6 separate regions of the Homo sapiens genome follow, and all the other regions are linked to region 6. The links are contacts of gene promoters, found by promoter capture Hi-C in blood cells and fetal thymus (Javierre and others, 2016). All regions are on one chromosome and are shown on one strand. Each heading gives the region's core, a stretch centred on a gene start or on the middle of the fragment in contact. The rest is flanking DNA. Distances are from core to core; before and after follow the strand shown. Region 1 overlaps ATP8B1 (ATPase phospholipid transporting 8B1). Region 2 overlaps ATP8B1-AS1 (ATP8B1 antisense RNA 1). Region 3 overlaps FECH (ferrochelatase). Region 4 overlaps ALPK2 (alpha kinase 2). Region 5 overlaps NEDD4L (NEDD4 like E3 ubiquitin protein ligase). Region 6 holds the start of NEDD4L (NEDD4 like E3 ubiquitin protein ligase).

Region 1 (4,385 bases), core at 150-2,649, 370 kb before region 6:
GGATGAACTATTTAATTTACCAAGACAAAAATGCAAGTACAAAATCAAGGATGTTAAAAATACACTTTTCTTGTGTATTTGTGGCTTTATACTGACATAAACCGTAAACCAGTTGCAATACTAGCTATTTGTTGAATATTTTCCACTTATCTAAACCCTACAAAAACTATGTATTAAATTTGGAAAACTTTTAGAAACAATATATTTTTCTTATTTCAAGATTTTGCAGAATATGAATTGTTTCGGTAATTCCCCCAATGTAATAAGTATTAGATGCAGGTTTGTTATTGTTTAAAAATTATAATAAATTTTAATAAGTGATATACAAATTATGGAATTAAATTAGAACTTCTCCTAATGTATTTTGTCTTTTGGTTTCTCATAATGGCAACTTCTGTTCTGCTCCTATTTTGGTGAATAAAAGAAATAACCTTCTTCCATTGTGCCAGTGTCAAATGCTGAAGTTACAATTATCTCTTAAGCATGAGATCAAATATTCAATAAAACTTAATAAAAATTTCAATTCTGCTTAGAATATCAAAGAAAAAGTTATTAAGGCTAAAACTCACAATTAAGTCTTTTTCAATCTCCTCATATACTTTATCCAGAGCTTCGTCCCGGTTGGTGGAGGCCACACTGGCAGCCATAAACTTTTTATTCCATTCTGTAAATTCTTTTTCTTCAATTTCCTTGTAGCAAAGGCATAGGGTTCTAAGAGTTTCATTTGCAAAGATCTGTTTTATTTAAAAAAATAAATCCACCAATGCAAAGAATAGTTAATTTATGTAATTCAGGATCAAGTCTGAAATTTTACTTTGAAGTAATATACTAACAGAATTTAAAAAGAGATCATTAAACATGACAGATTCTGTACAAATACACTTTAGAGAGGGGATTAAATGTCACTTTTTTTTTTTTTGAGACAAGGTCTGGCTTTATCATCCAGGCTGGGATGCAGTGATGCAATCCCGGCTCACTGCAACCTCTGCCTTCCAGGCTGAAGCCATCCTCTCACCTCAGCCTCCCAAGTAGCTGGGACTACAGGTGTGCACCACCACGCCTGGTAATTTTTGTACTTTTTTTTGTAGAGATGGGGTTTCATCATGCTGGTCTTGAACTCACGAGCTCATGTGATCTGCCCAACTCAGCCTCCCAGCGTGCTGGGATTACAGGCATGAGCCACTGCACCCAGCCTAAACATCACTTTATAATAGACTTTGCTTTTCTAAACTTCTATAGGGTCCAGGACTGCACTTCCAGTTTCCAAAGGGAAAAGCTTACCTTTCTTCTAAATCTTCTATTACCTTTCTCATTTTCTCATTTTCTCTTTTTCTCTTCATGACTAGGAAAATATCAGACCAAGGGAGCTGCCTTGGGGTGTAATGACATAAGCACGAACCTGACAACTTTATAACTTGTTCCAACAAACTGTGATACAAGTCCAATCACCTATGAACTCTCCACTAAGCATTATTCCCTCAAACCAATTCTAAAATACACAAGCCATTGTTAAAGCTGAGGTCAAAGCTTTTAATGGAAAAGAGTATCTGGCAATTTTCCCATGATGAACGATTCAAACATTTTCTTTTTTTTTCTTTTTCTTTTTCTTTTTTTTTTTTTTGAGATGAAGTCTCACTCTATCGCCCAGGCTTGAGTGCAGTGGTGCGATCTCGGTTCACTGCAACCTCTGCCTCCCTGGTTCACGCCATTCTCCTGCCTCAGCCTCCTGAGTAGCTGGGATTACAGGCGGGTGCCACTGCATCTGGCTAATCTTTGTATTTTTGGTAGAGACGGGGTTTCACCATGTTGGCCAGGATGGTCTCGATCTGTTAACCTCGTGATCTGCCACCTCACCCTCCCAAAGTACTGGGATTACAGGCGTGAGCTACTGCACCCAGCCTGATTTAAACATTTTAAACAGTTTCAACATGAACCAGTAAACATCTCATTACTTTATAGTCACATCTTTTTTATTTTGACCAAGTTTTGCTCTTGTCGCCCAGGCTGGAGTGCAATGGTACGATCTCGGCTCACTCTACCCCCTCCCTCTGGGGTTCAAGCGATTCTCCTGCCTCAGCTTCCCAAGTAGCTGGGATTACAGGTGCCCACCACCACACCCAGTTAATTTTTTTGTATTTTTAGTGGAGACGGGGTTTCACCACGTTGGCCAGGCTGGTCTTGAACTCCTGACCTCAGGTGATACACCCGCCTTGGCCTCCCAAAGTGCTGGGACTACAGGCATGAGACACCAAATACTCAATCAGTTGAACCGCTTCTGCCATCTTGGCTAGACAAGATGTGACCTATAGTCAGCTCTGTCATCCTGTCACATATGAATGCTTTCCTTCCTTTGCACTACAACTTGAAGTTAGTGGAGGTCTTGGGGACCACACACATAGTAAGACTACAACCTAGTATGGTTATGTAGCTTGCTCAAGGCCACTGGAAGAGAGCTAAGCCATTCCCCTGCCTCAGTCCTATAGACCTTGAAGACCCACATGCTGGGAGAGGGCACCATGGTGATATCCCAGGAAGTCAGTGGCAGGGGCAGAACTGGGACCCAGGTGGCTGTATTCCTACTTTACTGCTCTTTCCACCCCAACTATTGCAAAGCAAAGGGAGGGTCAGCAGTTAACATACAGCTTTCATGCAAACTTAACAGACAGCATCAGAGAGTAAGTTCAGAATCCCTTGCAGAAAGAATAAAAGTGAAACTTACATCCAGGGCATCCTGTGTTTCTTGCTTAGTAGGATTCATTCGATGTAACCGTTCATAAATAACAGTGTCAGCACCTTTACAGTAAAGCTTGATATTGCCTTCTGGGGTTCTTACTGGTAGTAAAAGAAGGAAATAAACACAACAAAGTTTGATTTTTTATATATATATTTTTTGAGACAGGGTCTTGCTCTGTTGTCCAGGCTGGAGTGCAGCAGTTCAGTATCGGCTCACTGTAGCCTCGACCCCCCAGGCTCAAGCAATCCTCCCATCTCAGCCTCCCGAGTAGCTGGGACTACAGGTGCATGCCACCATGCCTGGCTAATTTTTATTTTTATAGACATTGGAGGTCTCACTATGTTACCCAGGCTGGTCTTGAACTCCTGGGCTCAAGCAATCCTCCTGCCTCAGCCTCCCAAAATGCTGGGATTACAGATGTGAGTTACCACACCCAGCTAAGTTTGATTTTTTAATAGAAAACTACATTTATAAAGTTAATTTGAAATGTTACTATCTCATAATTCACTGTTAGCTTAAAACCATCAGTTCCTCTAGAAAAGTGTTGCCTTCAACAAAACTGGTAAGTCATTATCTACATTGAATGTAATAGTGAAATAAATATAAAAAGATTCCTTCACAGTCAGCTCTGTTTTTTATAACCTCAGTTATTCTTCCAACAAATATTTACTGACTCCCTACCATGTGCTATGCCATGTTCTAGTTACTTTCTTTTGTAGACTTTTTCTCCATCCAACCAACAGGTAGTTTCTCACCTATGAACTCACAACACTTACTGCTTTTAATACTTCGACCACAACACCACTCCTAATGACCATTTTTTTTGGGTTTTTTGATTAATGCAATAATTGTAATACATCCCTCACTGTTAACCAGATTTTAAATCAAGGTAGATGGCAAGCATGATAATCAGTCTAGATCTGTGTAAGGGACACAGAAAGCGTTCAGTAAGTGTGCCTAAGGAGGGTGTAATAGTTAAACCTGTATATTTTTATTGGTTAAAAATTCAATCATAGTGGAGAAGGCTTGTAGATACCACCTTAACCAAGTGATCAAAGTTAACATCCCCATTAATGAGACAAACCAATAATATATACCTTCTGGCTAGGCAGGGTGGCTCACGCCTGTAATCCCAGCACTCTGGGAGGCCAAGGCGGGCCAGTCACCTGAGGTCGGCAGTTGGAGACCAGCCTGACCAACATGGAGAAACCTTGTTTCTACTAAAAATACAAAATTAACCAGGCATGGTGGCACATGCCTGTAATCCCAGCTACTCAGAAGGCTGAGGCAGGAGAATCACTTGAACCAGGGAGGTAGAGGTTGCAGTGAGCCGAGATAGCACCATTGCACTTCAGCCTGGGCAGCAAGAGTGAAACTCTGTCTCAAAAAAAAAAAAAAAAAAAGTATATATATATATATATATATATATATATATATATATATATATATAACATGTATATACACATATATACATACATATATCTACATATATACACACATATATAAATACATGTATATATAAATATACATATATAAATATATGTATATATATATAAATATAAATGTGTGTGTGTGTATACACCTTCTGATGTGATACTTAAAGAAAAGCACAGCATCACTTACGGACTCTTCCTGCCAACAATGTGTAACC
Region 2 (4,221 bases), core at 1,541-4,040, 400 kb before region 6:
GTTCGTTCCTTCCGGTGGGTTCGTGGTCTCGCTAGCTTCAGGAGTGAAGCTTCAGACCTTCACGGTGAGTGTTACAGCCGTTAAGGTGGCGCGTGTGGAGTTGTTCGTTCCTTCCGGTGGGTTCGTGGTCTCGCTAGCTTCAGGAGTGAAGCTTCAGACCTTCACGGTGAGTGTTACAGCCGTTAAGGTGGCGCGTGTGGAGTTGTTCGTTCCTTCCGGTGGGTTCGTGGTCTCGCTAGCTTCAGGAGTGAAGCTTCAGACCTTCACGGTGAGTGTTACAGCCGTTAAGGTGGCGCGTGTGGAGTTGTTCGTTCCTTCCGGTGGGTTCGTGGTCTCGCTAGCTTCAGGAGTGAAGCTTCAGACCTTCACGGTGAGTGTTACAGCCGTTAAGGTGGCGCGTCTGCAGTTGTTCGTTCCTTCCGGTGGGTTCGTGGTCTCGCTAGCTTCAGGAGTGAAGCTTCAGACCTTCACGGTGAGTGTTACAGCCGTGAAGGTGGCGCGTGTGGAGTTGTTCGTTCCTTCTGGTGGGTTCGTGGTCTCGCTAGCTTCAGGAGTGAAGCTTCAGACCTTCACGGTGAGTGTTACAGCCGTTAACGTGGCGCGTCTGGAGTTGTTCGTTCCTTCTGGTGGGTTTGTGGTCTCGCTAGCTTCAGGAGTGAAGCTTCAGACCTTCACGGTGAGTGTTACAGCTCATAGAGGCAGTGTGGACCCAAAGAGTGAGCAGTGACAAGATTTATTGCAAAGATGAAAGAACAAAGCTCCCACAGTGTGGAAGGGGACCCCAGTGGATTGCCTCCGCTGGCTCGGGCAGCCTGCTTTTATTCTCTTATCTGGCCCCACCCACATCCTGCTGATTGGTCCATTTTACAGAGAGCTGATTGGTCCATTTTACAGAGAGCTGATTGGTCTGTTTTGACAGGGTGCTGATTGGTGCGTTTACAATCCCTGAGCTAGACACAAAAGTTCTCCACATCCCCACTAGATTAGCTAGATACAGAGCGTCTACACAAAGGTTCTCCAAGTCCCCACCAGAGTAGCTAGATATAGAGTGTCGATTGGTGCATTCACAAACCCTGAGCTAGACACAGGGTGCTGATTGGTGTGTTTACAAACCTTAAGCTAGATACAGGGTGCCGATTGGTGTATTTACAATCCGTTAGCTAGACATAAAGGTTCTCCAAGTCCCCACCAGAGTAGCCAGATAGAGTGTGGATTGGTGCATTCACAAACCCTGAGCTAGACACAGGGTGCTGATTGGTGTGTTTACAAACCTTGAGCTAGATACAGAGCGCTGATTGGTGTATTTACAATCCCTTAGCTAGACATAAAGGTTCTCCAAGTCCCCACTAGACTCAGGAGCCCAGCTGGCTTCACCCAGTGGATCCTGCACCAGGGCCGCAGGTGGAGCTGCCTGCCAGTCCCGCACCCTGCACCTGCACTCCTCAGCCCTTGGGTGGTCGATGGGACTGGGCGCTGTGGAGCAGGGGGTGGTGCTGGTCAGGGAGGCTTGGGCCTCGCAGGAGCCCACCGTGTGGGGGAGGCTCAGGCATGGCAGGCTGCAGGTCCCGAGCCCTGCCCCGCGGGGAGGCAGCTAAGGCCCAGGGAGAAGTCAAGCATAGCAGCTGCTGGCCCAGGTGCTAAGCCCCTCACTGCCCGGGCTGGCGGGGCCCACTGGCTGCTGGAGCGTGGGGCCCGCGGACACCCACGCCTACCCAGAACTCACGCTGGCCCGCAAGCACCGCGTGCAGCCCGGGTTCCCGACCACGCCTCTCCCTCCACACCTTCCCGCAAGCTGAGGGAGCCGGCTCCGGCCTTGGCCAGCCCAGAAAGGGGCTCCCACAGTGCAGCGGTGGGCTGAAGGGCTCCTCAAGCACCGCCAGAGTAGGCGCCAAGGCCGAGGAGGCGCCGAGAGCGATCGAGGGCTGTGAGGGCTGCCAGCACGCTGTCACCTCTCACCGGGTTCAAGCGATTCTCCTGCCTCAGCCTCCCCAGTAGCTGGAATTACAGACGTGCGCCACCACACTCCGCTAATTTTTATTTTTAGTAGAGACGGATTTCTCCATGTTGGTCAGGCTGGTCTTGAACTCCCGGCCTCAGGTGATCTGCCCGCCTGGGCCTCCCAAAGTGCTGGGATTACAGGTATGAGCCACTGCACCCAGCCTTTACTGTATTTTTTAGCAGAAAGAAAATGATTGCATTACAGTGGTTATTTTTAAGGGCCCCAACCTCCACTTTGTCCTGAGATCTACGTTGTGTTGTTTTCAGTGTTTTAACAGGCCTTTTTATTTTTATAAATGCCCCAGAAGTTGTAGCGCAGCCCTAACTTTCTAGCAGGACTTTTAGAAGCTGACAATTTTCCTAAGTTTCATTCACATCACATGAAGGCAGCAATTGTTAAAATATATTTAGATTCCATTAGGGTACATTTTGCTATCACATTGAAGTCTCTCAAGAATCATTTTATTCCCATCAGATGTTGTTACTGAGCAGTTTCTAGTGCTGAACATGACTAAGAACCTTTAGGTGGTGCTCTTTGATTAAAAACATTTATCCCTCAAACAACTTAAATACAGTAGTATATTGCAGGAAAAAGTGACCTTTATTTTTTTAGGGATGATCTCCCAGGTCTGCTCAATTTTTCTGCCATTTCTATTGCAGAGGCTAATAATTTGCCCATCTCCTCCCAGCCCAAGCACCCCAAGACTGATACTTTTCTATCACCTGCTGCTAATTTTGCCTCCCAAAGAGTCTCCCATCTCGACGCAGAGAGAACCTTCTTAGTGGGGTCACAGCTTCCCTTGCGTCCAAGAGCTGTCTGTCCCACAGCCTGGTCAGACTCCCACAGCCTCGTCAGACTCCCACAGCCTCAAACCCCAGGTTTGCCACTCACTTCCTCACTCACTCCTCTTTGCTCATTTTTCTGCCAACGATTCGTCATGTATTTCTAGGACTATCTGCTCACTTCTCACCCCTTACTTTTTTTGTTTTGTTTTTTGAGACGGAGTCTCGCTGTCACCCAGGCTGGAGTGCAGTGTCACAATCTCAGCCCGCTGCAACCTCCACCTCCCAGGTTCAAGTGATTCTCCTGCCTCAGCTTCCCAAGTAGCTAGGATTACAGGTGTGCACCACCATGCCTGGCTGCTTTTTTTTATTCTTAGTAGAGATGGGGTTTCACCATGTTGGCCATGCTGGTCTCGAACTCCTAACCTCAGGTGACCCACCACCTTGGCCTCCCAAAGTGCTGGGATTACAGGTACAAGCCACCGTGCCCAGCCCCAGTCCTTACTTTTGGTTGAGGGTTACCTTTCCTTTCATTCTGGCTAAAGAGTTGAGGTCAGTTGGAAAAACCCAGACTCAATCTTCCTTTTTTTTTTTTTTTTTTTTGGAGAGAGTCTCACTCCATTGCCCAGGCTGGAGAACAGTAGCACAATCATGGCTCACTGCAACCTCTGCTTCCTGGGTTCCAGCAATTCTCCTGCCTCAGCTGCCAGAGTAGCTGGGATTACAGGTGTGCACCACCTCACCCGGCTAATTTTTGTATTTTTAGTAGAGACGGGGTTTCGCCATGTTGGCCAGACTGGTCTCAAACTCCTGGCCTCAAGTGACCCGCCCACCTCAGCCTCCTAAAGTGCTGGGATTATAGGCATGAGCCACCATGCCTGGCTGATCTCCCTAACTCTAAATCTTTACCCCTCTGTCTCTAAAGTCTGGCCACCTTTTTAATTCTTTTAGAGACAGAGTCTTGCTCTCACCCAGGCTTCAGTACAGTGGCATAATCGTAGCTCACTGCAGCCTCAAACTCCTGGGCTCAAGTGATCCTCCCACCTAAGCCTCCCAAGCAGCAGGGACTACAGGCACATGCCACTACACTGAGATGTTTTTTTTTGAAAAGACAGAGTCTTGCTATGTTGCCCAGGCTGGTCTCAAACTCCTGGCCTCAAGTGATTCTCCTGCCTCAGCCTTCCAAAGTACTGGGATTACAGGCGTGAGCCACAGTGCCCGGTCCTGATCACCTTTTCTCCATCACCTTTTCCCTAACACTTAGTTTCCCTTTCTCCATCACTTCTTCCCTAACACTTAGTTTCCCTGTCCCCGACTTTCTCACTACTAAAGGACCCCTACATTCCTCTAGAAACCTTGTGGGACTAGATTCTTCTGTCACATACCCTATTCTTAAAAATAACAACAACAACAAAAGCCAATTTAAATACTTTAGAAGAT
Region 3 (4,595 bases), core at 1,768-4,267, 470 kb before region 6:
CCCCACTCTTGCATCTGCTCCTGTCTCTTTAGTCAATTATTAAATTAAATGACTACTGACTGAAATTAGTTTTTACATTTTATTTTTGAAATGGATTCTCACTCTGTCACCCAGGCTGGAGTGCAGTGGTGCAATCTCAGCTCGCTGCAACCTCCGCCTTCCAGGTTTAAGCAATTCTCCTGCCTCGGCCTCCCAAGTAGCTGGGATTACACGCACCCAGGCTAATTTTTGTATTTTTAGTAGAGATGGTGTTTCGCCATGTTGGCCAGGCTGGTCTCAAAATCCTGACGTCAGGAGCCTGCCTCGGCCTCCCAAAGTGCTGGGATTACAGGTGTGAGCCACCACACCAGGACTGACTTAAGTTATTGCTTGCTCCTCTGCTTCCTTCTCCAAGACCTCCCTCTATTCCTTCATCCATGGCTCCTGTTATGATAAACTTCTCCTCTCCATCCTGCATGTAAATTCACTGTGTAGATAATTCCTGCAAGAACCGGTGCTAACATTCAAATTAGTCCCAGGCTACAGAATCAACCCCTGAATAAGCAGGAAGAAGCAAAAAGAAAGCAGAGCTCCATAACAAGTTTTAGGTCAAGCAGCTTCTGGAAACTTAAAAAAACAAAGTGCTATGCAAAAATGTAAACCTAAAATCCAGATCAAGCTCCGGAGTCAACACAGCCCAAAGTGAGCCAGGCCAGGAGCTCCCCACTCCTAAGCCCCGCCAGAGGGCAAGGTGAAGTCGGAGCAGGACCAGGTGCCTCTGGCACGCTGGCAGGAGCCACCAGAAGACCTTGCGTGTCCCCATGAGCAGGTAGCCATGGGATGGCAATAACTGGGGAACTAAAGATCAAGGAGCATTTCTTCCATTCATTCATTCATCTTTTTTTCATATTTAAAAATTGAGATATAACTCACATACCACAAAATTCACCATAATCTGAACAATTCAGAGGTTTCTAATACATAAGGAAAGGCAGGAAACCATCACGACTATCTAACTCCAGGACATCTTTACCCCACAAAGAATCTTCGTATCCATTAAAGCCACTCCCTGTTCCCTCCCCTCTCACCCCTGGCAACCAGTAATCTACTTTCTGGGTCTATAGATTTGCCTATTCAGGACACTTCATAGAAATGGAATCACATGATTGTGTCTGGTTTTACTCAGCATAAAATGTTCATGATTGTGTCTGGTTTTACTCAGCATAAAATGTTCATGCTACGTGTCGTAGCATGAATCAGTACACTTCACTCCTCTTTATTGCTAAATAATATTTCATTATATGGTTATACCCTCTATTCACTTTCAATAAAGCAGCTGAAAAATAACCAGCCTGAAGTTTATCTAAACACCGTTATTATGAACGCTGAGGGGTCTACTTCCTGAATCTCCTACACCAGACTACCTCTGACCACTGCAGTGACTAAACCAATGCTGCTGAGACAGAGCCTGTATAGAGAAACATTCTTTATGTGCTCGAAAACTAAAGATACTATGATGACATCTTTTTTGTTTTTGTTTTTTTTTGAGACAGGGTCTCACTCTGTCACCCAGGCTGGAGTGCAGTTGCACAAACAAAGCTCACTGCATCCTCGACCTCCCGGGCTCAAGTGATCCTCCCGCTTCGGCCTCCTGAGTAGCTGGGACCACAGGCACATGCCTCCATGCCTGGCTACTTTTAAAATTTTTTATATAGACAGAGTCTCGCCATGTGGCCCCGACTGGTCTCAAACTCCTGGCTCAGGCTCCCAAAGTGCTGAGATTACAGGTGTGAGCCATTGCCCCAGGCTTATGGTGACATCTTAATGGGCAATTTTTAAACAATTATTAACAACATTTGGCAATAACGTAAGGCAGCAGGGTATGTCAAATGTAAACAGGTAGAAACTGTTTTCTTGATCAAACCTGTTGTATAAGTGGATGAGGTAAAAATCTGAATTCTCAACCTACTTTTTCAGAATACGAATCAATTCCTGGGGAAGGAGAAATATGGCATTACAATGAGATCAGGGATTTTCTCATTTAGACCCCATTATAAAGATTAACTAAGGTCCCTTTTCACATCAATGCCTTCAACCGGGGTTTTTCAACCTCAGCACTACTGACGTTTGGGGCTGGAGAGTCCTTTGTTGTAGAGGACGGCCCTGTGCAATGCAGGAGCCTTGGCAGCATACCTGGCCTCTACCTGTACACAATAATAGCACACACCCCACCCCAGTGTGACAACCAAAAATGTCTCCAGCCATTGCCAAATTTGTCCCAGGAGGCAAAAATGCCCCCTTCCCCCTATTGAGAATCACTGTCTTAGAGAAAGAGGGCTTAATCCCCTTCTAAAACAACCAAGCAACTGCACTGAAGATGTGGTTGTTATATAACTCTTCCATGCTCGAGTCCTACAACTGCATTAACGGGTGTGTTGAGTTTTCTTTCCTTGATATTTGAAAATTCCAGATGCATTATTTTGTGAAACTAATATTCGTTTAATCTTTCTACTTAGACCACTAGTCTTCTCCTGGGATCCTGTCTTTCACCTTCAAAATCTGTGACTCACAATAAATTAAGTGCATTTTCCCATGGATTGCTGCCAGTTAACAGATTACTGGTTAAAAAAACCTCAGGCTAAAAGACTTACCTAAGCCACAGACGGTATCAGTGTGCAAACGGGATTTAGAGCTGTTTTTCATCTATAACACCTGAGCTCAGAACAAGAGTGGCTTTAAAGGGGATGCTACTCTGCCCTGCTCATGGTTTTGCAAACGCATGTTGATCTTACACATGAAAGAGATGCACACGACTTGAAAATACCTAAATACACATGCACTTAATTCAAAACTGTGTTGTGCATGATGAATAGCGCATTAGTAAGCCCCAGTCTGACACCCCTCTATTCCAGAATGTGAAGTGAAAGCTTTAGTCAAGGGTCTCCATCTCCTCTCCCTCCAGACAGAACACACCTGAGACCAAGGTCTGAACGTTCATGTTCCGTTTGTTTGAATATAAAAGTGTATACAGCAAAATATATTTAAAACTTCTCACTTGGAAAGGTTTCAACATTTTGCCATTTTTATATCCCAGGACTCTCAAAATACAAGGTTTTTCCGTGAAATATTAAATGTACGTAACAGAAACTTAAGCTTGTCAATTAATAAACAATAATTCTATTCTACTCTATATGGTCAGCCTCAAGAAAAAGTAATACGATCCCAGCTCTTCATTAAACCTCTAAGACATGATTGGCCTGTGGGTCTATGATGCCTCTAGAACAGAATTTGGTGAACTATAGCCCATGCACTAAATCTGTATACACACATACACCCCTACTGCCTGTTTTTGTAAATAAAGTTTTACTGGAACACAGCTCCCCTCATTGTTTATGTAATATCTATGGCTGCTCTCACACTACAACAGCGGAGTTGAATAGCAGCAAAAGACAGAGTTTGGCCTACAAAGCCTGAAAAATTTACTACCTAACCCTTTACAGAACTAATGTCAACCCCTGGCCTAGTGTAGTGTCTACTCTAGTATTGCAGTCTAGTCCAGCCCAAGCATTAAGCAGCACAATGCCTTCATAATGACTGCCATCAGAAGAATCCACAAAGACACTCACTGCTTCACCATTTCTAATATTAAAAAACTAGAAATCACCTACGTGTCCCAGAATGTTGGTCAAGGTAGTTTATGACTTAATAAAATACTCTTCAGTTACTAAAATAATATAGACAAGTATTTATGATGATAAAGTAAATAAAAAGAGGGCATTATAAATATATGATGTACAGTACGGTCACATCTTGCTAAATACATACAGAGTGAATATTTAATAGTCATACAGACAAAATTGGCCTGGCTGGTCGCTCACACCTGTAATCCCAGCACTCTGGGAGGTTGAGGCAGGAGGACTGCTTGACCCCAAGAGTTCAAGACAAGCCTGAGCAACACAGTAAGACCTCGTCTCTATTTTTTTTTTAAGAAGACAGAGAGAGACAAAATATTGGGTGGTAAGATTATTCATAATGTTTTAAGGTTTTTTTTGTTGCCTATCCGTATTCTCTAAAATGATCCCATTTATTTTATATAAATATGATCTAAAGTTACTTAGTAGAATTTAAAGACTTTCATTTAATTTTAATAATATTAAGCCTACTTATATTAATGAGTTGCTGCTAGAAAAACACACAAATGAAATAATTTTTCTTCTAGGATTCCAAACTGAATCAGTTCTTCAGTTTCTATCAAATCCCAACCCTCAGTGCATATGGCTGAGGTGGGGAGAGGGGCTGGGAGGGGCAAGGAGAAATGGAATGGGCCCTGCTTGGCAGGCTGCCAGATGAAGAAGGTATCTAATGCCCATCCCCAACTAACCTCAGGTTACACAGCACTCAGTCATCATACCCATGATCATATAGCAAAAAACAATAAACACACAATAAGAAAATTTTGGTTCTGGCCAGGCACGGTGGCTCGTGGCTCATGGCTCATGCCTGTAATACCAGCACTTTGGGAAGCCATGGCAGAACTGCTGGAAGCCAAGAGTTCAAAACCAGCCTCGGCAGCAAAATGAGACCCCCATCTTTACAAGAAAAAAAATTTGTTTTAA
Region 4 (4,714 bases), core at 845-3,344, 460 kb after region 6:
CCCACCCACCCCATGACAAGGAGGGAGCTGGCCACTCTGTGAGAAAATCTGAGGCCTGATGCTTGTCCCGTAAGCAATCTCCCCAGAAATACGGTGACTTTGGCTTAGGTCTGGCTCCCCGTTCTTCAATGAAAGTGGAAACCCTTACATGATGGAAAGAAAAGTAGGCACGGCCTGGGATAGTCAATGCCAATAGCAAGAGGGTTTGATATGGTTTGGCCATGTCCCCACCCAAATCTCATCTTGAATGTAGCTCCCATAATTCCCATGTGTGGTGAGAGGGACCCAGTGGGAGATAATTGAATCATGGGGGCAGTTTCCCCCATACTGTTCTCATGGTAGTGAATAAGTCTCAGGAGATTTGATGATTTCATAAGGGGCTTCTCCTTTTCCCTTGGCTCTCATTCTGTCTGTGGCCTGCTGCCATGTAAGACGTGCCTTCCGCCTTCCACCATGATTGTGAGGCCTCCCCAGCCACATGGGACTATGAGTCCATTAGCCTCTTTTTCTTTGTAAATTACCCAGTCTTGGGTATGTCTTTATCGGCAGTGTGAAAATGGACTAACACAGGGCTCAAGGGGCATGTGTTTAGTTCAAAGCCAAACTTCAGACATATGATTTCTCATTTCCATAAAGATCGTTTTTCAATTCAGGACTGAAGGTTTTCTGGGTGGTCAGTGTTAGACCCCGGGAAACAATCCTGAGTTCTATGTAGACACTGAACCAATGGCCTGGCGAAGCAGACATTTGGAACACGTGGTCCTTGGACTCATCCTAACTGCTACCCACTAAACCATGGTGGGGATAGGTGGGGGATATCAAAACCAAAACAGTAGAACAGCTACCTGAGCTTCCCACTCTGGTTCAGCAAAAAGCAATAGGCACCCATTGCAAGCATATGGAACCCTTTTTTGCATGTGCCTTTCCAGCAGGAGGGGTAGGGAGGGTAGCTAGGGAGCCAGGGAGGCAAAGGGAATAGACTATCCCACTGTTTTCCACTGTGAGGGAGGATAAGAGCTGCCATCCCCTTCTGTAGTGGAAAGAGCCACCCTCTCTCACTCTACCCCCAGTCTCAGCCTGCATCCTGAACCTCTCTCAGGTCTAGTGGAAAGTAAAGCACTTCCCTGATGCCCAGAGTGTGGATTCCCTCTTGACCTTTCCAGAATCTGCATGCCCTGACCACGCACCAATTCCATTCCTGTCTCCTTAGGGTGAGGGTTATGGGCACTTGCTCCAACGCAGTGGACCTCTGCCAGGACCTTACCCGTGCAATCTAGTGATGACATTTTATCCCATGGCCCATAGTGCCACCCCACCAGTGTGTCTGCACCTGCTAGATGCCTGGGTCCTGCCTCCTGTGCTCTTGCCCCTGCCTCTTGGGCTCCATGGGCCGGGCTGTGAGCACTGGCATTCCCCACCTCCAGCACGTGACTTGCCCATGGAGGGCCCTGGCAGCCTAGAAACCAGTTTGGGCTGTGGAAAGAAAAAAACTCAGCATCCCCCTAAAGCCAGCCATGAGGATCAGATCTGCTGGCCACCTACTTCCGTGGTTCCCCACCCAAGTGGAGTGCTGTTTCTGAGGCCCAGGAAAAGACAGCTAAAGGATTAATGCTCGGATTCAGCGTTATCTGCTGGGAGCATGGCAAAAACAAAGGACGTGTTGGGATTCAGGCTGGTTAGGCAGACAGAAGCCATGAGGCCTGCTTTTCTGCAGTGCACCTGTGAGCTAAATTAGACATGGCACTTTGGGAGAACCAGTGACCATTTTAAAAGTCTCTTTCGCAGTTGGTAACTAATTCATCTCATTCTTTCAAAGCCGCTAATAACTCAAACATATGTAGAAATGCTTCACATAGCTTTTATTGCAGGGACTATGCTTTGAAAAAAAAAAAAAAAACCCACCAAATTGCAAACGCTGTCTCTGGACATCTTGTTTCATGGAAAATTGTATTTTAAAATTACAGCTCTAAGCCGTATGGAAGTCCAATTTGAAAAAGTCATTTGGCAAAAGGTCCTTGAACTTGGAGAATTGCTTTCCCTTGTTTCCCACAATTACCAGCTGTCACTTACAGTTTAGAAAGACAGAATATAATTTTTAAAAGAAAACTTCCCCCTGTCAGTTTAATGATTTGCCAGCAATTATGTCAAGGTTACTAGGAATCTCTAGAGTCTAAAGTTAAATCCTAGTGTGCAGCTATCAAGCTGAGTTGGAGATAACAGTAATCTACAGGTTGTTTCTAACAGAAGAAAGGAAATGAACAGCATTAGAAGTTCATTCTCCACTTGGCTGGGCACAGTGGCTCATGCCTGTAATCCCGGCACTTTGGGAGGCCCAGGCAGGTGGATCGCTTGAGGTCAGGAGTTCAGACCAGCCTGGCCAACATGGTGAAACCCCGTCTCTACTAAAAAATACAAAAAAATTAAAAAAAAAAAAAAAGCTCATTCTCCAGAATTCAAGGTCTTGAGTTTTTTGGGTGACAGCTTGTTAGAAGGCGTGGTAGTCTCACCAGCATGCAGGTCTCAGGTCCAAATCACAGGCTCATCTTTTACCCCACAAACCTGCAGGACCTGGCATAATCTTCTAAATGAGCAAATGCAGCCAGGAAGAATTAACTTTTAAAAGTCCAAAAGGGTGGTGATAGAATTTGAGTTTAATTCTAATTCCAGTGTCTCTGTAAAATTATAAAAAGTGGAGTTTCCTTAGAGAATAGATGCGCTATCTCATGCCACAATGACAATGACAGTAAAAATATTTTTTGTCCATCAACAGAGAGTAAATAAACACCATTACTTAATGCCACACCACCACGTTAAACCACACACGTCATTTACAGAGAGATGTGATATTCCATTACTGTTGTTTACTAGTACCTGGAAGTGAAACTAACTGTGCATGAAGCCCTGGGTGCTGCTTTTCAGCATGAGAGCTGAATTTAATACAAAATTAATTCGCAAGGAGAAAAGATGGGGGACAGCAGCAATTGCACAGCCAGAGTCTAAATAGAACAAACAGCTGTCTGTTAAGACCATATGTTTTGTGTGTGTGTGGCAGCAAAGTCTCTTCAAAGAGTGAAGTCTGACTTAAATTTGCAGATTGGCTTCATCTGCAAGGCGGTAATGTTGCATTTCCCAGCTGGCTTGCAAGGAGTCCTTCCAAGGGCTTAGGAGGAAGAACCGTACACATACCAGAGCCCTCTAACATCAGGAGAGACTTGGAAAGGTCTGGAAGTAAATATCTTGCAAATTTGCTAAATTGTTATTTGTGGAAAGAACTTGGAATTCAGAGTCAGAAAATGCGGGTTGGAGTCTTGGACCCCTCTACTTACTAGCTGAGTGACAGCAGACAGAGACAATCACGGTCTCCAGGCCTCAGTTTTCTCTTCTGTAAAATGGGGATCATAATATCTATCTTCTCTGCAGGGTTATTATGAAGATTAAGTAAAAATAATAGAAAAAAATGAATGGATACAAAAACTGATGAAATCCAAGTCAAGTTTCTAGTGTAGTTGATTATATTCTGCCAATGTCAATCTCTTGGTTTTGATAATGTACTATAGTTATGTGAGATGTCACCATTAGGTGAAGCTGGTGAAGCATACGTGGGAATCACTCCATATATTTTTACAAATCCTTGTGAGTCTATAATTATTTCAGAATAAAGGCTGGGGCACAGTGGCTCATACCTCTAATCCCAGCACTTTGGGAGGCCAAGGCAGGAAGATCACCTGAGTCCAGGAGTTCAAGACCAGCCTGAGCAACAAAGTGAAACCCCATCTCCACACACACACACACACACACACACACACACACACACACACACACAAAGAAAAAAAAAAGGAAAGAAAAAATTAGCCAAGTGTGATGGCATACTCCCGTAGTCCCAGCTACATGGCAGGATGAGGCAGGAGGGTCACTTGAGTCCAGGAGGTTGAGGCTGCAGTGAGCTGTGTTTGCGCCACTGCACTCCAGCCTGGGTGACAGAGTGACACCCTGTCTCAAACAAATAAAAAAAAATGGGTTAAAAGAAATAGGAACCATTTATTATGTGGCAATGCTGCAATAAGCGCTTTACTATCTCATTTAATTCTCAAAACAACTCTGTGTGGAAGTTACTGAAGCACTGAGAAAGGTAATTTGCCCACAGGCTACCAGGCTGGAAGTGGCAGTGCAGGGAACAGAACCCCAAGGTGGTCTTGCTCTTCAACACCATGTAATAGCTAGAGCTTGAGATCCTCATCTGGGACAATATCTGACATTTGGTAGGCAGAAAATAATATAGTTCAGATTTTCTTAACAGCAAACAGAAATAGGAAACCCCTTGCAGCAGAAGCTGCTGGTGCCTTACCTATTGCCCACACCCCAACCACTTCTGTGCACCTGGCTCCACCTCTTAGTGCCACACCAGCATTTCTCTGCTTAAGAACTTTCTCTGATCATGTTTTTTATCCGGCTTAGCTTGCCCATGTGGGCAGGTGACAAGTGCAAGGGAGGTAATGCCCCCACCCAGAGCAGCCGCCAGCTGGTGATCCTGGTAGTTGGTGTATACACACTCCGGCTCCCTCACTGAGAAGTGTGCTTTGCAGGGCTCCCTGCAGATGTCAGCTCCAGCGCCCACGGCAGTCACTGGCTAATAATATACTCTACCAGTCGCCTTTCCTTCCCCAGTTGCACTTCCCTACTCCTCTACTGGCGTTTCCTGGGATCCCCTCTCAAA
Region 5 (4,948 bases), core at 21-2,520, 280 kb after region 6:
CTTTAGACAATGCCATGCCTATTCCCCAATTTTAGCCCCACAGCTCTGTGAAAGTCTCCTCACACATTGAATCCTATTATTGCTATGGACTTGCAACTCTTTGTAAATTCTTTTTAGCCATTGAGGTCGCTTCAAAGTGGGTGGAGGAATTTAGAAAATCACTTTTTTTTCAAGTTTCTTACTCATTTGGCCACAGGTGACAGCCTGCAGTAGAAAAACCCTCCTCTAGAAATGCCATTCTGCAACGAGCTGACCAGAGGAATGTCCCTTTTTTCCTTCCTGACAGAGCCGCCTGTATTTACCTTGTCACAGACTGATGCTGTGGGTCCTATCGTACCTTTTCAGCACACACCTCGGCCAGTGCTGTTTTGTTAGGCAAATTCTCATATTCTCAAAGTGTCCATTAAACGAGACCTCTCTAGGGCTTATTCTCACATCTGTTTGCAGCTGTTGCATATATGTGATATGTGAATAATGTGTGTGGAGAAGTTACCCGAACACTCCTCCGCCTGAGAGATCATATTTCCAGGCATTATTTCATTTACAAGCCTTCATCTCTCTATATACATGAAGAGGAATAATGTGGGTGATAGAAATTTATGAATGTTAACATTTCATAAGCATGTCAACAGATTTTCATCTCAAATCCAAGGAATTTTTTACACTCTTCTTGCCTTCCAACCGCAGTAACCAGTGAATTACTTAATTTTCCAGTGATTTTAGCAGAGGATGTTAGGAAGGGAATACGTAATGCCTAAAATACGTGCTGTAAAAATGGAACTCGAATTTTGGTACCATGAAACCCGTTGGTGTGGACACAGCCAGTGTAGAGGGCCTGAGTAGAAGGCAGCAGCTTCCAGACTCCTGGCTCCTGCGGTTGTTTGGGATGCAAAGAGGAGGCTTCTCTCTCAAAGCCCACCTCCCTGGGGAGCAACAGGACTCTGGGCCTCTGGTCCCCTGTGCCATGAGTTCTGTTAGAACACAGGTGCAGCGCAGCTCATCTTCCCTGCTCCCTTTACCTCATAGAGGTGTTGAAAAGATGGCAGCTGTACTGTGACGCACATCATTGGCAGGGCTTTGTACAGCCTTGGAGGCCCTCCAGTCAAAATAACAAACATGACGTATGGAAAGAGTATGATGTGACTTAAGTAGTGTCACCGACTGTGCAGATCCAAATTGTGTTGTCCTGCAATGTAGTCATCTTAGAGGGCAGCACAATTAATTGGCCATTACTCAGAAGATTTTTGAGGCCTTTCTAGAATTGATATATATATATTTTTTTGGCCTTCATTTGGGAATTTACTCAAATGTGGCCCCGAAGCCATGGCTAGAGCCAGAGAGCCCCAGAGCAAGGAGAAGGGCATGCAGGGCATGCTGTGATGACCTCTTACTCACAGCCGAAGAACCAACCTCATAATCGTCCCTTTAACTTTATTCCGCAGCATGGATGGGAAGTTGTTGACTCAAATGACTCGGCTTCTCAGCACCAAGAGGAACTTCCTCCTCCTCCTCTGCCTCCCGGGTGGGAAGAAAAAGTGGACAATTTAGGCCGAACTTACTATGTCAACCACAACAACCGGACCACTCAGTGGCACAGACCAAGCCTGATGTGAGTACCGTGTGATGGTCAGGAACACGTGCACGTGCACTGCACAGCTAGGGACAAATATGGCGGCCCTTTGGGACAAGGCTGGGAAATAAATCATATGTCTATAAGAGCAGATGGTGGTGTGGTACGAGATTCCTCTCCATTTACGTAAAGCATGCAAGAGCAGTCAGAACTTGTATATTGTAAGCGATTGCCTTTGAGTCACATGCTGCTGTTTTCAATATGAGCTGATTTATTTTCTATGTCTTCTTTTATGTCGATTCCTGAAATACAAAGCAGAGGTTGTTTTTCTTAGACTTATTTTACATTTGTTGATTATATTGTTTTCTTCTTCACCTTTCTCTCCCAACTGACCCAGAACAGAACCGGCAAGCAAATTGGCTTTGCAATTTTCTGTTTTCTCTAAGTTTTTGGATGTTTACTCTCTTCAATGCATTGATTTGGAAACCTCAAAAATTTTTTTTTCTTTAAGGAAATTTGAGCCCCTTAATATAATCAGAAACACATGGGAGAGTTGCAAAATCAGAATTAGTAATTACTGTGTATTTTAATCCCTCACCAGCCTCAGGGATGCAGTAAACCAATTCCTGTTTTGTTCCCTCAGCAATTTGTGGTTTGATTGATAGCAAATAAACACTGGTTAAAACTCATGGACTTTAAAAATGGTTTTGTAGCAGCTTGTTTTTAAATCATTTTATACAGCAAGATCTAAGTCTATTGATAATACATCGAAGGGCAAAAAGAAAGTCTTAAGGAAAAGGAATTTTATCCTAGAAATTATGAGCTGCCTAGCAGCCAAGACAAGGAGGAAATTATCAATGAACTATACAACTTTCAGTATGTAATAAAAGCAAGTCTACTGGGTAGTATAATTTTCTTGTCTACTCGAACTCTGAAAGAAAGTGGCTAATGATACATTTTAGACAACAAGCAGTATGAGGTATCATGTTCTTAAAAACCTTTTATCTTTAGAAATTGTAAAGATACTCCACATATGACTGTGGGTGGGGAGGGTGGCCAAGTTTTCTGGTCTAGGTTTTGTTTAATTTAGAGATAAAGCTTGCAGAATCTGGAACAACGAATAGCCTGTCTTCTCTGAGCCCCCAGGTGGGTTCTCGTGAATGTCAGCTGTTCGTGATCAGCTTTAGACTACCCAGCACGGGCATTAGCTCAGGACAGCAAAATGGTCTCAGGACAGCAAAAATATCAGATCAGCTGGGTAATGCTGAACTATCTTTTGTTAAAGTTTTTTCCCATGGAAATAGCTTGGTTGATTCTTTTTGTTTTTTATATTATTGCTTACTATTTCCTTTTGATTAATGCCCATAGCTATTAGAATTATTGTAATCCATTGTAGCTATTTGTAGTAAAAATGAATTTGGACCCACCTTGGGCTTGGTTACATGTAGTGACTAGAAGAATCTTGGTAGCAATATCCTAAGCAAAGCACCATTACCTACCTTTGCTCAACAGCATGAGAAAGGAGTACTGAAAAGGTAGATCCTCATGCGACCTCTGCAGAAAAGTGGCCAGGAGCAACTCACAAAGGAAAAAATCCTGATAGCTAATATGTATATGGAAAAATATTCAACTTCATAAATAAGGATCATGCAGATTAGAGTTTGTATTTTGGGGACAAATAGGGATAATTGCTACTTTCTCTGCCTCACAGAGTTGTGAAACTAACGAGGGAATTCTTGAGAAAACACTTCATACATTTTAAAATATATACTATTTTTTTGATGGCTCCACAGGTGTAGACATGTCCCCACACTCATCAAGAGGTGTACGTTAAACATGAACAGCTTTTTAATGTGTTGATTAGACCTCAATAAAGTGATTTAAAAGAGAAACCATCTTTGGTGGCAGTGTCCCAGAAACTAAAACAAAAGGTATAACTTGCTGGCTCTTCACTAGTCTAGAGCAACAAGGGAAAAATGCAGTTCTTTTTCTGTTGTTGTTTGAGACAGAGTCTCACTCTGTCACCCACAGTGGCACCATCTCGGCTCACTGCAACCTCCGCCTCCCAGGTTCAAGCGATTCTCCTGCCTTGGCCTCCTGAGTAGCTGGGATTACAGGCGCCCGCCGCCATGCCCAGCTAATGTTTGTATTTTTGTGAAGATGGGGTTTCACTGGCTTGGTCAAGCTGGTTTCAAACTCCTGACCTCAGGTGATCCGCCCACCTCAGCCTCCCAAAGTGCTAGGATTACAGGTATGACCCACCACGCCCGGCTGAAAAATGCAGTTCTTAATCCAAGTTCGGGCTCACATGTAGTTTTGGGAGAAGGCAGAGGCATAACTGCCCCATCAAGGAGGCAGCAATGCCAAAGGGAGAGGCTGAGCCAGGAAGGACACAGCAGAACTTGGCAGAACCTGAGGAGCGCCTCCTTCCAATGGGCATAACTTCTAGAAGGCAAGAGGAAAGTTAGTTAAGGAAAAAGAGTTTCCACCACAACCTCTGCTAGCAGGCCCTTTATTGGGATACAGTATAAGTTCATTTCAGAATGTGTGAGAAAACTTTAAAATTTGTGTTTTAGAAAGAGTCTATAATGAGTGTTCTTGATAAGTACTATATTTCAGTTAGTCTGAAATGACGATTTCAACTTTTGAGATACTGACTTGTGACATAATTTTTGTTAATGGGATATGTTATCTTATTGAAAGTATCTGTGAGAGTTTTCCCTGAAAAAATTTTTGGCATTTAAACTTGTACACTAAAAGCCTCTGACTAGTATTTCCCCCAAAGTATGATTGCCTATAATTTACTGCAAAAAAAAAAGTTTTCTTTTTTCTTTTTTTTTTTGTTTTGTTTTGTTTTGAGATGGAGTCTCACTCTGCTGCCCTGGCTAGAGTACAGTGACATGATCTCTCAGCTCACTGCAACCTCTGCCTCCTGGGCTCAAGTGATTCTCCTGCCTCAGCCTCCTGAGTAGCTGGGACTACAGGCACGCATCACCACACTCGGCTAATTTTTGTGTTTTTAGTAGAGGCGGGGTTTTGCCATGTTGGCCAGGTACGTCTTGAGCTCCTGACCTCAAGTGATCCGCCCGCCTTGGCCTCCCAAAGTGCTGGGATTACAGGCATGAGCCACCATGCCCAGCCCAAAAAAGTCTTCCAAATTGAATCAAAACTTTTAGATCCTGAATTGAGAACATCACATGACAAAAAATAGGGTATGATGTTTTGGTGTTCTTCAGACCCCGGCTGACTTGAGAGGTTATCTCCTGATGTTATTAGGATTTTTAAAGTAGGGTAAAGGAGGTAAATGCAGTGTCACGATTTTGAGATTCTGTTAAAATGAGCTAGAAAGCAGCTGAAAAAAATTCATGTTGGATCAGG
Region 6 (4,287 bases), core at 1,284-3,783:
GGATCACGATTTTATAAACACCCCACAATAAGTGACATATGGCAAGTTTCATATTATAGTTCCTAATAACCATCCCTCAGGGAAAGACAAGGACATGACCCTGAGTGCAGGGCTATAGGCTGTTGCGGTGGGTGTGTGGGAGTAGATGATAAAAGACAGGAAGAGAAACTGCCACACCCCTCTACAGTTTCCAGATAACATAGCCTTACCCAAAGGCGAAGCCTGGAATTGTGTACCTCCAGGATGTGGAAGGCGTGTCCTGTGTAATTAGAAATTATAATTTTCTATCAGCACATTTTAAGAATTATTTATTTATGTATTTATTTATTTAGAGACACAGGGTCTTTCTCTGTCATCCAGGCTGGAGTGCAATGGCACGATCATAGCTCACTGTAACCTTGAACTTCTGGGCTCAAGTGAACCTCTAGTCTTAGCCTCCTGAGTAGCTAGGACTATGGGCCCATGCCACCACACCTGGCAAATTTTTAATTTTTTTTTTTTTTTGTAGGGACAGGGGTCTCTCTATATTGCCCAGGCTGGTCTCGAACTCCTGGCCTCAAATGATCCTCCTGCCTCTGCCTCCCAAAATGCTAGCATTATTATTCAATTACTTTTCTTCCTTTATAATATAAACTGTACAAATTTTACAAAGGTTTGGCTAGTGAGGGTAGGTAGAGAAGCACTGACTCCCATCCATGAGGGTCACAGGCTAGGGCAAGGGCATCTGAGAATGCGTGTGTGTGTGTGTGTGTGTGTGTGAGAGAGAGAGAGAGAAAGACAGAGTGTGCACGTGTACCTTTTGTTTATCAAAAGACTTTAGGGTTGTTTTTTTTTGTTTTTGTTTTTTTTGAGACGGAGTCTCGCTCTGTGGTCCAGGCTGGAGTGCAGTGGCGCAGTCTCGGCTCACTGCAACCTCCGCCTCCCAGGTTCAAGGGATCCTCATGCCTCAGCCTCCCCGAGTAGCTGGGATTACAGGCGCCCGCCACCACGCCTGGGTAATTTTTGTATTTTTAGTAGAGATGGAGTTTCACCACATTGGCCAGCTGGTCTTGAACTACCGATCTTATGATCCGCCCGCCTCAGCCTCCCAAAGTGCTGGGATTACAGGTTTGAGCCACCGTGCCCGGTCTAAAGACTCGAGGTTTGAAAGGGTTGAAAAACCTCAGTATTGAAAGAATGGACAGAAATCTGACTTTTAAATAGTCCTCCATAAATAGTTCTCATTGGGGGTTTTGTGGCCTGTAAGTACTGTGGACTTGACGGCTCAAGACTTCTAGAGAAGGCTTCTGAGTAGGATGTTGACTCCATGGGGCTAAGTCGTCAAAGGAAACCCATTCTACGGCACAGGTTTTAAGCCAGTCATGCTGCAGGAAGGCAAAGGAGAGCTTAAGGTAGCATGGGTGGGCTCTTTTGAAAACGAACTAGCAGGGCGAACAGCAGATATTTAGTTATGTAGCTGGCAACGAGGAATATGATTCCTTCGGGTCACGCGAGTTCTCTCTGAACTTCCTTGAATGAAAATCCTAAATGCATCCTGGTAATACCCAAGTAGGCACTTTGACGTTTCCTTTTCAAAGGCAAATGGAATGTTCTGCGTCTGTTTTCTTTTTGAACTCCCAACTGCACTTAACATCTAAATTTAAGGAAAGGCTTCCGAAAAAGTCGACTGACGAATTTCTTTCACTTATTTAAAGTAGTCTCTTGCAGTCCTATAAATCGGAAGGATTAAATGAACTGCTTGCTAGAGAAACGGTAGCTGGGTGGTGGGAAGAATCCTACGGTGGCTAATAAGACGTCTCGATCATTTGCATATGCAAAGGATAACCTTAAGCTTGAGTTTGATATTTCACGTTGCGGCTCACAAATGAACTGCTTTTTATTCAAAGAACCATGCTGTCTGTTTTCGCGTGGGTGGGTGTGTAACCGGGGCGGGCGCTATGTTGGTTTTGTTCCCTGCAAGGTTGACACAGGCAATGGCGACTTGCGGCCACACTGGGGCAGCCTCTCCTCGGCTGGCAGCCGGGCCGGGCGGCTCGCTCCCGGGAGCTGACAATGTAGCCAAGTCCTGCTCGTCGGGGCCGCAAAGAATTTAAAGGGGTCTAGAAACATCCATCTTTTCCCCTTTTCACAGTTAACAGCGAGCTCAGGGCTCTCGGTAAAAAGACCACCGGGAGGAAGAAACGCTCAGGGCGTTTTTGTTATTGTTCGCAAAATCCTCTATCGCCCCCAAACGTCCAGCCCGCCCCCTCCCTAAAGCGGAGGGAAACCGGGAGAGGAGGGAGGGTCGGCGGCGCCGGCCAAGCGCGCCAGTACACGCCCCTGCGGATCCGCCCCGCGGCCGGGTGACCCCCGCCGCGCCGCGCTGGAGGCCCCGGGCCGGGGTGGGCGTGGGGCTGAACTCCGCCACCCCCGCAGCCCGCGGCCCGCTCGCCAGCCCGGCCTGTGATTGGCTTGGGGGGCGCGTGTGCCCGCCCCGGCGAACGGGGAGGGTACCCTCGCGGCGCCGGTGGGAGGAGGCGGAGGAGGGGGCGGAGAGAGCGGGGGCCCGGACGGCGCTAGCGAGGAGGCGGGCGAGCCGGGTCCCCGGGAGCGCAGAGGAGGCTCGGAGGGGGGCGGAGAGCGGCGGGGCGGGAGGGAGGCGCGGGTCGCGGGGAGGGAAAGCCCGGCCGGGTCTGCGCCGCCGCCGCGCGCAGTGAGAGGCGCCGGGGCTGCCGCCCGGTGCTCGGCGCGCTCTCGGGAGCCGCCCGCCCGCTGGTCCCGCAGCCTTCCGGGAGGAAGCGGTGCCGGCAGCGTCCAGGGCGCGCTCTCGGGCACCCTCACCTGCCGGCGCCCGGCCGCTTACCCGGCAGGGCGTGCGCAGGGTAGGGTGCGGGACCGGGGGGACCTGGAGGCAGAGGGGAGAACCGGCCGTCCGCGCCGCAGCACAGCCGCTGGGAGCGCCTCAGACCCCGCGCGGGGCGCCGGCTCCATGGCGACCGGGCTCGGGGAGCCGGTCTATGGACTTTCCGAAGACGAGGTGAGTGGCACCCCCTTCCTGCTCGGGACTCCCCGGGGAGTTCCTATCCCGCGCCGGCAGGGGGAGGGGAAAGGGGCCGTCCCCGGGGTGCTCGTGCCCAGCGTCTGCAGGGGAGCCCCAAAGCGGGAGCGCCCCGGAGCGGGATCCAGGGGAGCTTGGGTCCTTCCGCACCCCCCACCCTCCGCAAGCCGAGCTCATTGTTTGTAAATAAAGCGGCGCGACGCCCTTGGAGCTGGGGGTTCACTCCGCAGCTCCTCGCTTTCGGGAGGAGAGGGAGGGGGCATGCGTGCCTCTCTTCCCTCTTCCTCTCCAAGCAGCGTCTCCCGGGGCTGTTGGGCAACTTTCCGCCTCTCGCCCCTGCAGCCCGGGAGTCCATGATGCATGTCACGTCTGGGTCGCGCGGCTGGAGACCCGGGACTGCGGAGAAGCCGGATCGTTTCCCCCTGGAACTTTCTCTCTCATGATTGTGTGGATCAGCAGGCGCTCAGAAGCCTGTGCGTGCTTATCCCGGCGGGAATGGGGGACACGCTGCGTGTGTCCCTCCCCTCGTTTTGCAAAGTCTACGGCCAGGATTGTGGATTTCGGAGCCTCGGTGGGGGAGGTGTTCAAGGCTGGTGGCAGGTGCTCCTGGAAACTTGGGGAGGAAGCTTGCAGCCCTGCCATTTTTTCCTCCCGAGGATTCAAAGCCCGGCACCTCCAGGGTGGGTGGGGAGAGGAAAGCTTAATTGATCTCTTTTATTAATAAAGCGACTGAATAAGCCACGCCTCCCAGGCGGTCGGTTTCACTGGAAAGGGCTTTGTTTTTACCTTCATTCTCTCTTCCGTGTCTCCCACTCCCCCCTTTTGAAACAATCCTGCTAAATCACTGCCTAGTCCTCTCTCGACCAGCCACGCTCGGCTCTTATTGGTATGTTGCTCTGCCAAAAAGGGGGGTGGGACGCTTGTCGCGGGCGCGGCGTGACAGGCAGGCTGGATGGAGCAGGTAGGAGTGGTTTGCCATCTGGCGGGGTGCGCGCTCAGGTCTGGCTCCCCTTTCGAGAGGTGAATTTTACAACCCAAGAAGCATTACTCAGCAGGGAGGTATTTCCTATCCTGGTTGTGCATTTCATGAAAAGTTGATGCCTGGAAATTCAGGCGTTCTCGATTTCTCTTTCTTCCCCTCCCTCCTTTCTTTTCAGAGGTTCCCTCTTTCTCTCGTGTTGGGGGTGGGGTTGGAAGAAAGGCTATTATCTGAGACAGGCTCGCGTTATGGCTCCGCTTTCTGCGGCTCT

Evidence for each region. The method cuts DNA at HindIII sites, captures the fragments that hold promoters and counts their contacts. A CHiCAGO score of 5 or more calls a contact.
Region 1: a contact is called between a fragment that was not itself captured here and the fragment with the promoter of NEDD4L in region 6, in 2 of 17 cell types (erythroblasts and megakaryocytes). The highest score is 7.4, in erythroblasts.
Region 2: a contact is called between a fragment that was not itself captured here and the fragment with the promoter of NEDD4L in region 6, in 4 of 17 cell types (megakaryocytes, erythroblasts, M2 macrophages and 1 more). The highest score is 17.3, in megakaryocytes.
Region 3: a contact is called between a fragment that was not itself captured here and the fragment with the promoter of NEDD4L in region 6, in 1 of 17 cell types (erythroblasts). The highest score is 5.1, in erythroblasts.
Region 4: a contact is called between a fragment that was not itself captured here and the fragment with the promoter of NEDD4L in region 6, in 1 of 17 cell types (endothelial precursors). The highest score is 5.2, in endothelial precursors.
Region 5: a fragment that was not itself captured here is called in contact with the fragment with the promoter of NEDD4L in region 6 in 2 of 17 cell types (endothelial precursors and M1 macrophages); the score reaches 7.7 in endothelial precursors.

The regions. Positions count from the first base shown.
Region 1 is chr18:57,668,749-57,673,133 of GRCh38, forward strand. It overlaps ATP8B1 (ATPase phospholipid transporting 8B1), which reads right to left. Exons shown (of 28, transcript NM_001374385.1): 17 at 2,720-2,832; 18 at 570-734. It overlaps ATP8B1-AS1 (ATP8B1 antisense RNA 1), which reads left to right. Exons shown (of 3, transcript NR_164148.1): 3 at 1-535. Among named protein-coding and RNA genes, the nearest start is that of ATP8B1-AS1, 41 kb to the left of the region's middle. The HindIII fragment of the contact is 251 bases long and covers 1,275-1,525 here.
Region 2 is chr18:57,642,224-57,646,444 of GRCh38, forward strand. The region is part of intron 2 of ATP8B1-AS1 (ATP8B1 antisense RNA 1); the gene reads left to right. ATP8B1 (ATPase phospholipid transporting 8B1) reads right to left here. Exons shown (of 28, transcript NM_001374385.1): 28 at 4,203-4,221. Among named protein-coding and RNA genes, the nearest start is that of ATP8B1-AS1, 14 kb to the left of the region's middle. RefSeq lists enhancers at 1,273-1,784, 1,785-2,295. The HindIII fragment of the contact is 4,262 bases long and covers 660-4,221 here.
Region 3 is chr18:57,573,936-57,578,530 of GRCh38, forward strand. All of the region lies in intron 2 of FECH (ferrochelatase), which reads right to left. Among named protein-coding and RNA genes, the nearest start is that of FECH, 10 kb to the right of the region's middle. The HindIII fragment of the contact is 226 bases long and covers 2,905-3,130 here.
Region 4 is chr18:58,498,358-58,503,071 of GRCh38, forward strand. The region is part of intron 11 of ALPK2 (alpha kinase 2); the gene reads right to left. Among named protein-coding and RNA genes, the nearest start is that of MIR3591, 50 kb to the left of the region's middle. The HindIII fragment of the contact is 5,513 bases long and covers 1-4,714 here.
Region 5 is chr18:58,323,554-58,328,501 of GRCh38, forward strand. It overlaps NEDD4L (NEDD4 like E3 ubiquitin protein ligase), which reads left to right. Exons shown (of 31, transcript NM_001144967.3): 9 at 1,443-1,609. Among named protein-coding and RNA genes, the nearest start is that of MIR122HG, 120 kb to the right of the region's middle. The HindIII fragment of the contact is 2,791 bases long and covers 1-2,666 here.
Region 6 is chr18:58,041,693-58,045,979 of GRCh38, forward strand. It overlaps NEDD4L (NEDD4 like E3 ubiquitin protein ligase), which reads left to right and starts at 2,534. Exons shown (of 31, transcript NM_001144967.3): 1 at 2,534-3,016. The coding sequence starts at 2,969. RefSeq lists a cis regulatory region at 1-339 and silencers at 2,229-2,598, 2,619-3,168. The HindIII fragment of the contact is 1,832 bases long and covers 1,830-3,661 here.